Regions from separate parts of the Homo sapiens genome. Here region 1 is linked to region 2. The links are contacts of gene promoters, found by promoter capture Hi-C in blood cells and fetal thymus (Javierre and others, 2016). All regions are on one chromosome and are shown on one strand. The core of a region is centred on a gene start or on the middle of the fragment in contact, and the rest is flanking DNA. Distances in the headings are between cores, read along the strand shown.

Region 1 (6,662 bases), core at 509-3,008, 240 kb before region 2:
TCCTACTTCAGCCTCCCAAGTAGCTGGGACTACAAGCACACACTACGGGCTGAATTTTTGAAGTGCCCAGCAACGACAGTAGACTTTTTTTTTTAAGAGATAAATCTCACCCTGTTGCCCAGGCTAGATGGAGTCCAGTAGTGTAATCACATCTTACTGCAGCCTCAAACTCCTGGGCTCAAGCAATCCTCCTGCTTCAGCCTCCTAAGTCGCAGGGACTCAGACACACACCATCATACCTGGCTGAATTTTTTATTTTTATTTTTCATAGAGGTGAGGATATCACTATATTGCCCAGTCTCCAACTCCTGGCCTCAAGGAATCCTTCTGGCCTGGCCTCCCAAAATGATGGGATTACAGGCATGAGCCACTGCACCTGACCCACAGTGGAAATTTTAAGGACAATTTGAAAAGAAAATGTTACCATTTCTTCCAAATAGACGATTATATTGAATGCTGAATGGCAGAGGCACTGTTGTATAATTATTTTGGGCTATGAGAAACAAGCAGTTGTTATCTTGCAATCATGTAACTCTTTTTCATCTAGGAATCTCCAAATTATCTCCAACAAGAACAGCAACAAAAATCTATGACCAAAAAACACAGTTTCAAAGTGTTCCCCAACCTTTTTGGCACCAGGGACCAGTTTCGTGGAAGACAATTATTCCATGGATGGGGTGGATGGTGGGGGAAGATTGCTTCAGGATGAAACTGTTCCACCTCAGTTCATCATGCATTAGAGAGTCTCCATAAGGAGCGTGCAACCTAGATCCCTCATATGTGCAGTTCACAGTAGGGTTTGTGCTCCTATAAGAATGTAATGCCACTGCTGATCTGACAGGAGGCAGAGCTCAGGTGGTAATACCCACTTGCCTGCTGCTCACCTTCTGCTGTGGGGCCCAGTTCCTAACAGGCCACAGACTGTTACTGGTCCACAGCCCAGGGGTTGGGGACCTCTGTTCTAATAGGTAGAAAACATGTTTATAAAGGACTCCATGACAGAAATTAAGCTGAACCCTTGTTTGTTAATCTCCATCCAATGAAAGGCCTACTAAATTCAACAGGTACGTATTCAACAGCTCTCATGAGCCTAGCTTTGTGTTGATTCCCCAGATCTATCTCTGCGTTGGGAGAATCCAAGTCCCTCTCATTATCTTAAGAAATATTTTTACATTTCTCCAAAATTTCAAAATAAAAGTAATAGAAAAATCATTATTTCTTTTTTAAAATTAGTAGTGCTCGCCATGAATTGAATTGAAAATAGGAGAGGGGTTATTTTAAATTCTTCAGGTTCTGAAATGTCGAAATTCCCAGATGACTAAAAAATCACTTATTCATCTAGATATTTAGGCTTCTTTATAAAGCTCTATAAATGCGCAAATATCTAGATGAATATCAGGATATATCTATATCCTGAAACCATATTACTTTGGAGGACCTGTACCATATTATATGAAAGATTATTAAATATATCTTCTTCCACTTATACCATGTAATTGCTAAAATTTTTCTCCCTATGGTCATTTTATTTATCCAGAACTAGAGACGTGTTTTTTCCCTACTAAATGAGGTGATAATGAAGTGGAAATGTAAATTTTTTAAGTCCACTTTTTGGTTTTGCTCTGTATACACTATATTCTGAAAGTATAAGGTTTTGAAAACTTAAGCTTTATAAATCATTTCACCAGAAAGATACATACATATGTCTATGTCTACATCGCTGTTTTGTGGACTCAGCTGCAACGTGTGTTCATAGGTTGCTATTTCTACCATATCCATCCAAATAATATGTGGATATCCACATAATAGCCACATATTATAATTAGAACTCTATTGAAAGTAAGCTTTTATTAATTATAGTATTTCCTGCAATTATGACCTCTTAACACTTCTTTGTTATACTTAAATAAAGAGTCAACATGGGGCACCCAAAAATCCTTCAATGATTTTGACATTTGAGCCAATCACATCACTTGAGCCAGGATTCAGTTCTTTTAAGTCACAGCTGGCTCTTCTAATGGCTAGTTACTCATATGATCCACAGAATGAGGTATTTGTTAAGAATTTGGGGTGCATATTCTGCTTTCAGAAAGTCAACACTGTTTGGTGATTATTTATCTTTTTTTTGTTTCCTCCATGCCCCATTACTTTATTTTCAATAACTGTTGCTTTCCTGAAGATAATGATACGGGATAGGGTAGAAGACGAGATTTTTTCTCTCAAAAGTGGAAGTTGATATTTTAATTAACAAAAGGGTGGGATTACAAACAACATTCTAATCATATGACCACACCACATTTTTCTGTTTAAATCAAGTCAAGGTTATGATCGTGATTCATAACACACATTGACTAAAAAAAGTCAATTGGCATAATTAAGAAGGGGAAAGTTTTCTGTTTTTAGTAAAGAAACAAAACAGTCCTATAACTGACCTTTACATTTCATTCTACTTTAAAAAGGCTTTCTAGCCTTTTGGAAAATCTTCATACTTCTGTTACATATTGAATTTAAAACTATATGCATTAAAAAATGTGCTATTAATAAAACCTCATCTTGGCAGCTGGTTCAAATATTTTTTTAAGAATATGTAGCCATTGTAGCACTTGTAATTTAAAATAGATGGCAGGAGCACACGGTCACTGTATATTAATGAAAAAAGTAGTCTATTTGAATTTTCTTAAAATGTTGCTGATTTGAAGTTTGAGGGGACTTAAATATAATTTATCCTCTTTTGCCTGGTCCTTAGTGAAGCACACAGAAAGCTTGGAATGCTAATTCAGAATTAATGCTCCAAAGACATGTACAGCTCTTTAGGAGAGGGAGCGTAAGCTGCCAAATATCTAACCCCAGGCTGGAGGTCAGATGTTAGGATTCTGCTTCGTGACATTCTCTTCCAGCTTCCCACCCTCTTTCAGCTATTCTATCCTCTCATTGGGATGTTTATGTTATTTTCTCACTCTTTAGAGACAGTATTGGCGCATATTCCCATACTAAGACAATTCATTTTCCTCATAAAAAAAGATTAGAAGAATAGGGAAATGTTTACAGGCAATATGCATGTTGCCAGTATTTCTCTCCTCAATTTCAGCTACTAAAAACCAAAAAATGTGTGTCTTAGTGGAAACTCAATGACTCTAGGATTTAGTACAGGGCCTGGCACATAGTAGGTACTCAGTAAATCTTGAACAAATGATGTTTCCATCAGTTAGACTTTCGTTAGCTTACTTGGGTTCCCTGGTAAATTTTTTGCTCACTTATTTATTCAACCATTCATCCAATAGATATTTCTTGAGAGCCTATTAAGCACTTGCTACAATTCAAAGGGCTTGACAAATATTTTACCTGGACACATGCTTTCTATCTACAAGATTGTATTTACTACAAAAATAAACGTTGTTGAATTTTTCAAGCAGTTATTTCCATTTGGCAATCAGTAGTTTTCTCACAACACAGGATACTTATTTTGCTAATGAGACCAAGAACCATCCAGATGGCTTCCGTCAAGTGGTAAGTTAAGCCTGCTTAAATTTTTGGTCTGTGATATGGCCTTTAAAGAGCATAGAAGCCACTTGAGGGGCTTGTGAAAATGCAGATCCCTTGACCCTACCTGCAGAGATTCCAATTAATTTGTCGAGAGAGAAGCCAGGTCGTCAGTATGTTTTTTTTGTTGTTTTTTGTTTTTTTGTTTTTTAAAATCTCCTCAAGTGATTGTAATATGCAATCAGGGTTAAGAACCACTGGATTAATGGGCAGGAAAGAATGCTTAAGGTAAGTGCTCATAAAATTTTGGCATGCGTAAACATTAATTGAGAGTTTCTGGCTGCAGGGCACTGTGCAAGATGAAGAAAACTTATAAAAGGTTTTTGGAGCAGAAGGATGATGTGACCCAACCACGTTTCTTTATATTTATGTTTTGCCGATGTAAACGTTGTAAAATAACGCAATGTCCTTGAAACATATCAGTAATAAGATGTCAAAGGAGAGTTCCACTTTACTCATTCTACTCTCCATCTTCCCTGAAGTAAGCACTGCTGTCAGTGTAACAAATATGTTTCCAAATTTTTTCTATTCACTTGCGGTTATAGGTATTCATGGAAATATGTAATACTTTATAAAATGGTTATGGATACATACTTACATATTGGAAACATATAATACACATAGGATATATAATATACATAGGATTAATGCATATGAAGTTCAAGATAAGGTTATGAGAGGACAAAGGGTTAGGAGGTGAATACAAAGTGGTTTTATATGCCAAGAAATTAAGATGGGCTTAGGTATATGTGTTCTTTATGTTAATTATATTTCTTTAAATGCATGGAATTTAACACAAATCTATGCTTTTATTTTGTGTTTATATATTTTTTGAAATATTGTTTATTTAAAACGGTTTTAGATTTAGAAAAGAAATGTGAAGATAGTAGAGTTCCTTAAAAGCTGCACCAGTTCCTTCGACCATCTTACATTAGCATGGTATATTTGTTGCAATTAATGGAAAAATTTAATACATTATTATTAACTAAAGTGAATTCTTTATTCAAATTTCAGTAGGTTTTACCTAATGTCCTCTTTCTGTTCCAAAATCTCATCCAGGAAACCACAGTACATTTAATTATCGTGTCTTCTTAGACACCTCTTGGCTGTGAGAGTTTCTCAGACTTTTCTTGTTTTTGATGACTTTGACAGTTTTGAGAAGTACTGAGCAAGCATTTAGTAGAATGTCCCTCAGTTGGGATTTGTCTAATGTTTTCTCATGATTAAGTTAGACTTATGAATTTTGTGGAGGAAGACCACAGAAGTGACATTCTTGTCACTTGTCAAGGGTACAAACTATCAAGCTGACTTATCACTAATGATGTTGACCTTGTCAACCTGGCAGAGTTAGTATTTATCAAGTTTCTCCAAAGTAAAGTTTCTATTTTTTCTCCTCTTTCCATACTGTGTTCTTTGGAGGGAAGTCACTACGCACAGCTTACACTTAAGGAGTAGGGAGTTAGGCGCCGACTTGCACAATTCATTTTGAATTCTTCTGCATGGAAAGACTCCACAGATTACCCCTAGCTCTCAAAGCAACGTGGTGGGAATTCACTTGCAGGGATTTGCCTAGTGCCCTCGAGGTGGGTGCTGCCTCTCAGGCAGCCTGGTGCCTGGATCTCACTGCTAGAACAGGCATCAGAAAGATGCACACTGTTGTGTTTGTTGGGCTTGATGCCTCGGCATTTAAATTTAAGCTGAGATTCTCCACATGGTGTGTTGTTTACCATTAAGCTCCAGATCAGAAACCACTTCTCCTGGAATCTTTCCTGTGTGACCACCCTTCCTGAACCCCGTCTGTGAAGTGTTGTCATCCATCTCCAGTTGACCAGAATAATTATCTTTTATCTCCTCTGTGCCACTTACCACCTTCTACCTTCTAGTACTATTATTTAAATGTACAACTTTTCGCCATTCAGTTACATATTTTACAAACAGAAACTGATTTTTACAGCTTTGTCTTTTTTTTTGTAGTGCCTAGAACATTGCCTTAGTTAATATACGGCAGGACAAATATGGTTTATTATATGTTTTGTGTAAATATGAATATTACAAAGTAATGTGCCTATAGAATTATTGTGCTTAAAGCAAACAATTCAGTGGCATCTAGTACATTCACAATCTCGTACAACATCTAGAACATTTAAAGCATCTACTTTCAAAACTTTTTTGTCACCCAAAAGAAAACATGCCCTTTAGCATTGACTCCACATTTCCCCCTTCACACAGCCCCTGGCAAGCACCAATCTGCTTTCTGTCATGGTGGATTTATCTATTCTGGATGTTTCATGTAAATGGAATCATATGTTATGTAACTTTTTGTGTCTGGCTTCTTTTGCTTATAACAATGTTTTTAAGGTTCATCCACATTGAGCAGGTGTCAGTGTTGCCTTTCTTTTTATGTCTGAGTAATTGTTCTGTAATTTTGTCATTTATTGCAGGTATATTACATCTGCCCTGATTTTACCGCTAGATGGCATTACTTTCCTGGGAATTTCCTGGTCATTGCCCATACTGGTTAGTGAAATTAACCAAACTAAACTATGAAATTATATCAGTTCAATTTGAAAATTAAAAATTTTTAATTTTAAATTTAAATTTGAAAATTAAAAATTTAAAACTTTTAAAAATTTAAAAATTGGGCAATTTTTAAAGTTGCCCAATAAATTAGCATCTGTAGGCATTCTTTGACAGATAAAACCAAAGAGGTGGTATTCATAATGAGGTTTACAAATAATTCAAATGATGTAAATTTCTCAAAATATAAGCAATACAGATTTCTTTGCATTGTGTAGGAAGTACTGGGACCTTGAAAGCAAGATGGTGGAGACATGGGGACACCTGGATGAAATGTTATAATGCACACAAAGTTGTCAATTCAGTACCTGGCTTGCAGCACTTTTGGGCTAATTAGGTAAAGACCAGGCAGATGCAGCCCTGTAGGCTGGCAGTTTGGCAAGCTGAGTGGGGATTAGATGTGTGTCCACACACACACTCTTGGGTGGCAAACTTGCCCAATGAACAACCTGTGGAACGATTTCTGGAGGCCCTGGAGCTAGCTGTTGTCATTAAGAGACAGCATGACACAGTAGTCAAACTGTCTTCTGGATTACAAACTGATA
Region 2 (7,504 bases), core at 3,419-5,918:
AATTCTGTTTCCTATCAGAGAAGCAGGGACTATTTACCTCATGATGGCTGTTTCCCTGCAGTTCTGAAAAGCTGGGGTCCCGGTTGATTTTGTTTTTAGCTTACTGATTCCAAGCAAATGCTGAAGAGGTTTCCACCCAGGGTGCTGTTAGGTCTGTGCTTTTATGAAAGGGGAAAGGAAAGTGAAACTGATGGAACCCTATCAAGATCCCTCTTGAGGGGAAACTGAAACAGAATCTGTGAGAACTGAGCTCACTCACGCCAGGAACATGTTCCAGACAGATTTGGAAAACTGTGGTTTGAAAGTTGTAAAAAGGCACTGTAAAAAGAAAATAAAATTTTAGAAGCTTCCAAATGTGTTATGTCAAGAGGCAAAGTTAAGCCCTGAAAACTGACTCACGTAACGTGACTGTTTTTTTTCTCAGGTGCATGACTGTTGCTCTTTGACCTGTGTGGTGAGGGGTTACATGTTAACCAGACTCCCTAGTCTCACTGCAATTTCTGCCTCTCGGGTTCAAGTGATTCTCCTGCCTCAGCCTCCTGAGTAGCTGGGATTACAGACGTGCACCACCATGCCTGGATAATTTTTGTATTTTTAGTAGAGGCGGGGTTTCACCATGTTGGTCAGGCTGTTCTCGAACTCCTGACCTCATGATCTGCCCGCCTTGGCCTCCCAAAGTGCTGGGATTATAGCCTTGCACCACCGTGCCCGGCCTCAGACAACCTAGTCTTTATTAAAACGTAGACCTCATGTTATGGAAATAGAGACCCTTTTGATTGTTACTTTTTTTTTTTTTTTTTTTTTTTGAGACAGGATCTCACTCTGTCATCCAGGCTGGAGTGCAGTAGCACGATCTCAGCTTACTGCAACCTCTGCCTCCCAGGCTCAAGCGATCCTCCCATCTCAGCCTCTCCAGTCAATGAGACTATAGGCACGTGCCACCACGCCTGGCTGATTTTTGTATTTTTAGTACAGACGGGGTCTCACTATGTTGCCCAGGCTGGTCTCCAACTCCTGAGCTCAAGCATCTGCCCTCCTCGGCCTCCCAAAGTGTTGGGCTTATGGGTGTGAGCCACTGCGGCCAGCCATGTTACCTCTTTACAAAAGAATATTAAGCAATTCCCTTGGACTGTAATCAATAGTAGCCAATCAAATTGTATATCTGTATGTTAGCCTCTGTATGGAAAATGTTGGCCAGGCACGGAGGCTCACGCCTGTAATCTCAGCACTTTGGGAGGCCAAGGTGGGTGCATCACTTAAGGTCAGGAGTTCAAGACCAACCTGACCAACATGGCAAAACCCCATTGCTACTAAAATACAAAAAAATTAACCAGGCATAGTGGCGTGCTCCTATAGTCCCAGCTACTTGGGAGGCTGGGTGGGAGAATCCCTTGAGCCCAGGAGTCTGAGGCTGCAGTGAGCCATGATCGGGCCACTGCACTCCAGCCTGGGTGACAGAGTGAGACTCTGTCTCAAAAACAACAACAGCAACAACAAAAACAACAACAACAAGAGAAGTTGTCATTCTGTTGAACACCTCTGTCTTTGCCTATGTAAACAGTCCTCATTTTTCTCTACACTGGAAGTACTGTTCACCATTCTTGGGTGCAGCTCTACTCCTGGGACTGCTGCCCTCAACTTTTTGTTGAATAAACTCTTTTAACTGGATCCTGAGCCTTCTGATTATTGTATATTGACAGTACTGACTATGCAGTCCTACTCCCAGAGATTCTGGTGCAGTGAATCTGATGTGAGCTTAGAAACCTGTGTTTTCACAAGTGCCTTGGAAATTCAGTGCAGGAGTTCCTGTACCACATTTTGAGAAGTGCTGTCATAGAGGTATTTTAAAAAGCAGTTTTCCCCTTTATTTATGGAGCTAATGTGGTGAATTAAGCAGCATTATCAGGCATCTTGAGTGAAGGGAAGAAAACCACAGGACACCTGGATTTCAGTGACCTCTTTGCTTAGTTCTGGGATATTTCTTGAGTCATATCACTGAGCCTCATTCCCTTATCCTTAAAATGCCCTAGGATGAATTTCCTTTTCCCTTCATCCAAATGATAGAAAATTATGCCCTGGGGAGAACCACTTTCACCCTTCTCCAAGATCTGGGTTCAGTTCTTGTGGCTTTGGCCACTCTAAGGCATGGGTAACCATCAAAGGCTGGCCCTTACTCTCCAGATAGGAAGCCCATCCCTGGCCCCCTCTCTAAAGTGAGCATAGTTGAAAGCATTAAGATCTTTCACCTTTTGGCCATTGGGCATAGAGTCAGATGATCAGCAGTAGAGTTTGGTGCCTCCATTAATGACTCTGCTCTGACACCTGCTCTCTATCTGATGTCTTGGGCAAGTAATTTGCCCTTCTAAGCCCCATTTTGGTCATCTAGAAAATGAGGCTAATAATAGAAATAATAGCTCTTACTTCCTAGGGCTGTTGGAAGGGTGATATGAGGTCATGCGTAAAACGTGTTTAACACAGTGCCCACTTGTCAGGCCTCTGAGCCCAAGCTAAGCCATCATATCCTGTGACCTGCATGTACACATCCAGATGGCCAGTTCCTGCCTTAACTGATGACATTCCACCACAAAAGAAGTGAAAATGGCCTGTTCCTGCCTTAACCGATGACATTATCTTGTGAAATTCCTTCTCCTGGCTCATCCTGGCTCAAAAGCTCCCCTACTGAGCACCTTGTGACCCCCACACCTGCCCACCAGAGAACAACCCCCCTTTGACAGTAATTTTCCTTTACCTACCCAAATCTTATAAAATGGCCCCACCCCTATCTCCCTTCCCTGACTTTCTTTTCGGACTCAGCCCACCTGCACCCAGGTGAAATAAACAGCCTTGTTGCTCACACAAAGCCTGTTTGGTGGTCTCTTCACACGGACTTGCATGAAACCACTAACTACAGATCACAAAGAAATGTTACCACCATGATTGCTGGTACTAATATATTTGTGTTATAATTTTAAGTGAATTTGTGAGTGTGTAAAGGGAGCAACAGAGTTCCTCAGTGGATGGGGCAGAGGAGGATGCCCATCAGCTGGCACGTGCCAGTGAGTTCTCCAGGTGATTTTCCCATTTGGAAATTTTTAGCACAACTGGGGAGGAGCAGCCCAATCTCTTCCTGTTCCTATAGCCTCTGGAAATAGGAGCACCTTGATGTGAACCTGAGTCCAGCATAGTTCAGAGAGCCCCCCTCAGACCTCCTCAGGTCAGTGGCTATAGACACACCTAAAGACAGGACCCTGTAAAACCTTTCCTGCAAGCTGGCTACTAAGACGCCTTGCTCTCTGGTCAATCCCACTCACACAGACACAATTAACATCACTCTTGACCAGGAACTTATTCTATATAAAAGGGTATTCTATATACTGAGGTATTTGGCAGTGAATTCCTCTTACCCATCTCATCCCCAAACATGACATTGCAGAGCATCTTCAAGTCCTTGGGGCAGAGTAAGGTAGGGAATCCAGTTTTCCTTTTCTGCCCCCCTGAATGGTCGATGGGGTCTTCCCTCCCTGGCAATCACCTCCTCACTCCTTTCCTAGAGATGCTTGGTGGGAAAGGCATCCTTTTCTCTTAGTTCTCCCTAACATGCTATCCCCTGAAGAACTCCAGGAGGTCAATATATAAATTTAAAAATCAAGTTTACTGAGATTATGCTTTATATACAATAAGATGCACCCATTTTCAGTGTATAGTCTGATGAGTTTTGGTAAATGTTTATGCATATGTAGCCACCATCACTACCTCCCTATAGACTATTCCTATGATTCTAAAAAGATTCTTTTGGGAGCCTTCCTACTCAATCCCCACCATCTCCAGGCAACCACTGATCTGCTTCCCACCATTAGAGATTAGACTAGTTTTAGATAATAGATTAGGTCATTACACTTTTGAGGAGAAATTCTTTTTTTGCTGCTGACCAGCATTCACTACATCAATAAAAATAAATGCTAAGCTTTGGGTTTGTTTTTATATAAGAAATGACAAAAATGCCCATTTGTAAGAATTGTTTCTTCCACTTCCCACCTTAAAGTAATGCAACGTTTCAGGGCAAAATTGCCTTCTTCATGAGTGGGTTTGCAGTACTGATTGTATCTTTCACAATATCTGTTGAAAATAAATTCCTCCTTTTAAAATTACAAGAAAAAAAGCCTGTGACTTAATCTTTTCAAACAAAATGACAATAACAGAAAAACCCAAAAGAGTAATTCCCTTAGGTCTACCCTTGAATCAGCCAAGTTTGTGGCTGAGTGAAATACACCGCTCCTGCCAAGCCTTCCTCTCATTGCAGGAAATAGCTGCACACAGGGAGGAAACATGAGCTGATGCATTCCCCACCCTGCCTCCCCCCATGTAGTTCCGTAGGGAACCATTCCAGAAACTTAAGAAGCCTGTGTGTACACCAAAAAAAGCCACAGGGAAAAACCCCTCAAACATCTTACAAATGCTCAGACTGATAAAGACATATTGAATCTATAAACATCAGGACAATTCAGGAATGTGCCTGCACAGTAAGAAACTCAACTTACAATTTGCACTCAAAAACAAGCATGATTATGCATTCTTATTTCACTGACCTCATGACTGCCCTCTGTGTCTCTGCTGTTCCGAAAAGCTGGTGACCAGGCTGATTTGTTCTTCAGAAGTCTTCCTGTCTGCCTCAAGTAAATACTGAAGGAACTATATAAAGGGGTGGGAGAGTAGGGCACGCATCAGCTGATGTTTTCTCCGTTTTTGAGTAATTGCTTTTAGGGGAAGGAAGAGGAAACTGGAAAGTGAAACTAATTTAAAATCGTTGGGAGGAGGAAAATGAAACCTAACGGCTTGAGACCTGCAATGGCTGAGCCAGAGTACGTTATTCAAAACTGTGACTAAAATTTGTTTGAGAGAATGTGGAAGCATTCCTAATGTAAACCAAAAAATTAAATTCTAAGGCCATACTCACCAACCATGTGACTGGACCCCTGCTTTTGGCCAAGGGCATTCCAAAGTTAACCTGAAAACTGATGTGAAGGGGAAGCTGGATATGCCTCATTACATCCTTTTTCCTTTTGGAATTACTAATAGAACACACTCTTTTTTTGTTTTTGTTTTTGTTTTTTTTTGAGACAGAGTCTTACTCTGTTGCCCAGGCTGGAATGCAGTGGCATGATTGCGTCTCACTGCAACCTCTGCCTCCTGGGTTCAAGTGATTCTCTTGCCTCAGCCTCCCGAGTAGCTGGGATTACAGGCACCCACCACCATGCCCGGCTAATATTTGTATTTTTAGTAGAGACGAGGTTTCGCCATGTTGGTCAGGCTGGTCTTGAACTCCTGATAGCAGGTGATCCAACCACCTTGGCCTCCCAAAGTGCTGGGATTACAGGCATGAGCCACTGCACCCAGCCAGAACATGCTCTTTTTAAGTGTATTAAGAAACATTTACAACCTATTCTCTCTGAAGCCTGCTACTTGGAGGCTTCATCTGCATAATAAAACCTTGGTCTCCACGACCCAGACATTCCTTTCTAATGATTGTCTATTGAATTTCTATTGGATGTCTCCAAACATTCCTTTCTATTGATAATAACTCTTTCAACAAATTGTCAATCAGAAAATCTTTGAATCTGCCTATGACTTGGAAGCTGCCCCGCTTCCCTGTTTCCAATTGTCCCACCTTTCTGGACCTAGCCAATGTACACCTTACATGTATTGATTGATGCCTTATGTCTCCCTAAAATGTATAAAACCAAGTTGTGGCCTGGCACATGTTCTCAGGATCTCCTGAGGGCTGTGTCACAGGCCATAGGTCATTCATATTTGGCTTAGAATAAATCTCTTCAAATGTTTTACAGAGTTTGACTTTTTTTGTCAACATTAGGTATCTGACCATCAGTCTAGGGTGGGGCCCAGGAAACAGCATTTTTTAAGCCAATTCTTATTATTTTTAAAAATTTTTTGTGGACACATAGTAGATATATATATTTATGGGGTACATGAGATATTTGATGCGAGCATACAATGAGTAATAATCACATCAGGGTAAATGACTTCAAGCATTTATTCTTTGTATTACAAACAATCCAATTATACTCTTTTAGTTATTTTGAAATGTGCAATAAACTATTGTTGACTATAGTCATCCTCTTGTTCTAACAAACACTAGATCTTATTAATTCTATCTAAGTATATTTTTGTACCCATTAACCATCCCCACTTCCCCCGCTACTACTCTTCCCAGCCTCTAGTAATCATCATTCTAATCTCTATCTCCATAAGTTCAATTGTCTTAATATTTTTAGCTTCCACAAACAAGTGAGAATATGTAAAATTTGTCTTTCTGTGCCTGGCTTAATTCACTTATAATGACCTCCACTTCTATCCATGTTGTTGCAAATGACAGGATCTCATTCTTTTTATGGCTAAAGAGCACTCCGTTGTGTAAATGTACCACATTTTCTGTATCCATTCTTCTGCTGATGGACACTTAGGTTGCTTCCAAATCTTGGCTATTGTGAATAGTGCTGCAATAAACATGGGAGTGCAGATATCTCTTTGATGTACTGATTTCCTTTCTTTTTGATGTATTCCTGGCAGTGGGATTACTGGATCATATGGTAGTTCTATTTTTAGTCTTTTGAGGAACCTCCGAACTGTTATCCATAGTAGTTATAATAGTTTACATTCCCACCAACAGTGTACAAGAGTTTCCTTTTTTCCACATCCTTGCCAGCATTTGTTATTGCCTGTCTTTTGGATAAAAGCAATTTTAACCAGGGTAAGATCATATCTCATTGTAGGTTTTTTTTTAACTTATATTTTATGTGCAGGTATACACGTACAGGTTTGTTATTTAGGTAAATTGCATGTCATGAGGCTTTAGTGTACAGATTATTTAGTCACCCCACTCATAAGCATAGTACATGATAGGTAGTTTTTCAGTCCTCTCTCTTCACCCATTCTTTACCCTCAAGTAGGCCCCAGTGTCTGTTGTTCCCCTCTTTGTGTCCATAATGTTCAGTTCCCACTTATAAGTGAGAACATGCAGTATTTGGTTTTCTCTTCCTGCATTAGTTTACTTAGGATAATGGCCTCCAGTTCCATTCACATTACTGCAAAGGACATGATATTCTTTTTTTTGTGGCTGCATAGTAGTCCATGGTGTATATGTACCACATTTCCCTTATCCTGTCTTCTGTTGATGGGCATTTAGGTTGAGTCCATGTCTTTGCTATTGTGAATAGTGCTATGATGAACATACTTGAACATGTGTCTTTATGGCAGAATGATTTATATTCCTTTGGGTATGTACCCAATAATAGGATTGCTGGGTTGAATGGTACTTCTATTTTAAGTTCTTTGAGAAATTACCACATTGCTTTCCATAGTGACTGAACTAATTTACATTCTCACCAGCAGTTTGTAAGTGTTCCCTTTTCTCTGTAACCTCACCAGCATCTGTTATTTTTGTTGACTTTTTAATAATAGTCATTCTGACTGGTATGACATGATATCT

What was found. Contacts are between HindIII fragments. The CHiCAGO score rates a contact against its expected background, and 5 or more counts as called.
Region 1: a contact is called between a fragment that was not itself captured here and the fragment with the promoter of IFIT3 in region 2, in 5 of 17 cell types (total CD8 T cells, non-activated CD4 T cells, total CD4 T cells and 2 more). The highest score is 7.8, in total CD8 T cells.

The regions. Positions count from the first base shown.
Region 1 is chr10:89,563,403-89,570,064 of GRCh38, reverse strand. No RefSeq gene overlaps it. Among named protein-coding and RNA genes, the nearest start is that of MIR107, 26 kb to the left of the region's middle. The HindIII fragment of the contact is 177 bases long and covers 1,670-1,846 here.
Region 2 is chr10:89,325,161-89,332,664 of GRCh38, reverse strand. It overlaps IFIT3 (interferon induced protein with tetratricopeptide repeats 3), which reads right to left and starts at 4,668. Exons shown (of 2, transcript NM_001549.6): 1 at 4,587-4,668. The coding sequence starts at 4,591. It also overlaps a transcript of LIPA not described here. RefSeq lists enhancers at 39-333, 101-360, 2,380-2,439, 4,661-4,900 and silencers at 451-530, 4,291-4,340. The HindIII fragment of the contact is 8,842 bases long and covers 3,967-7,504 here.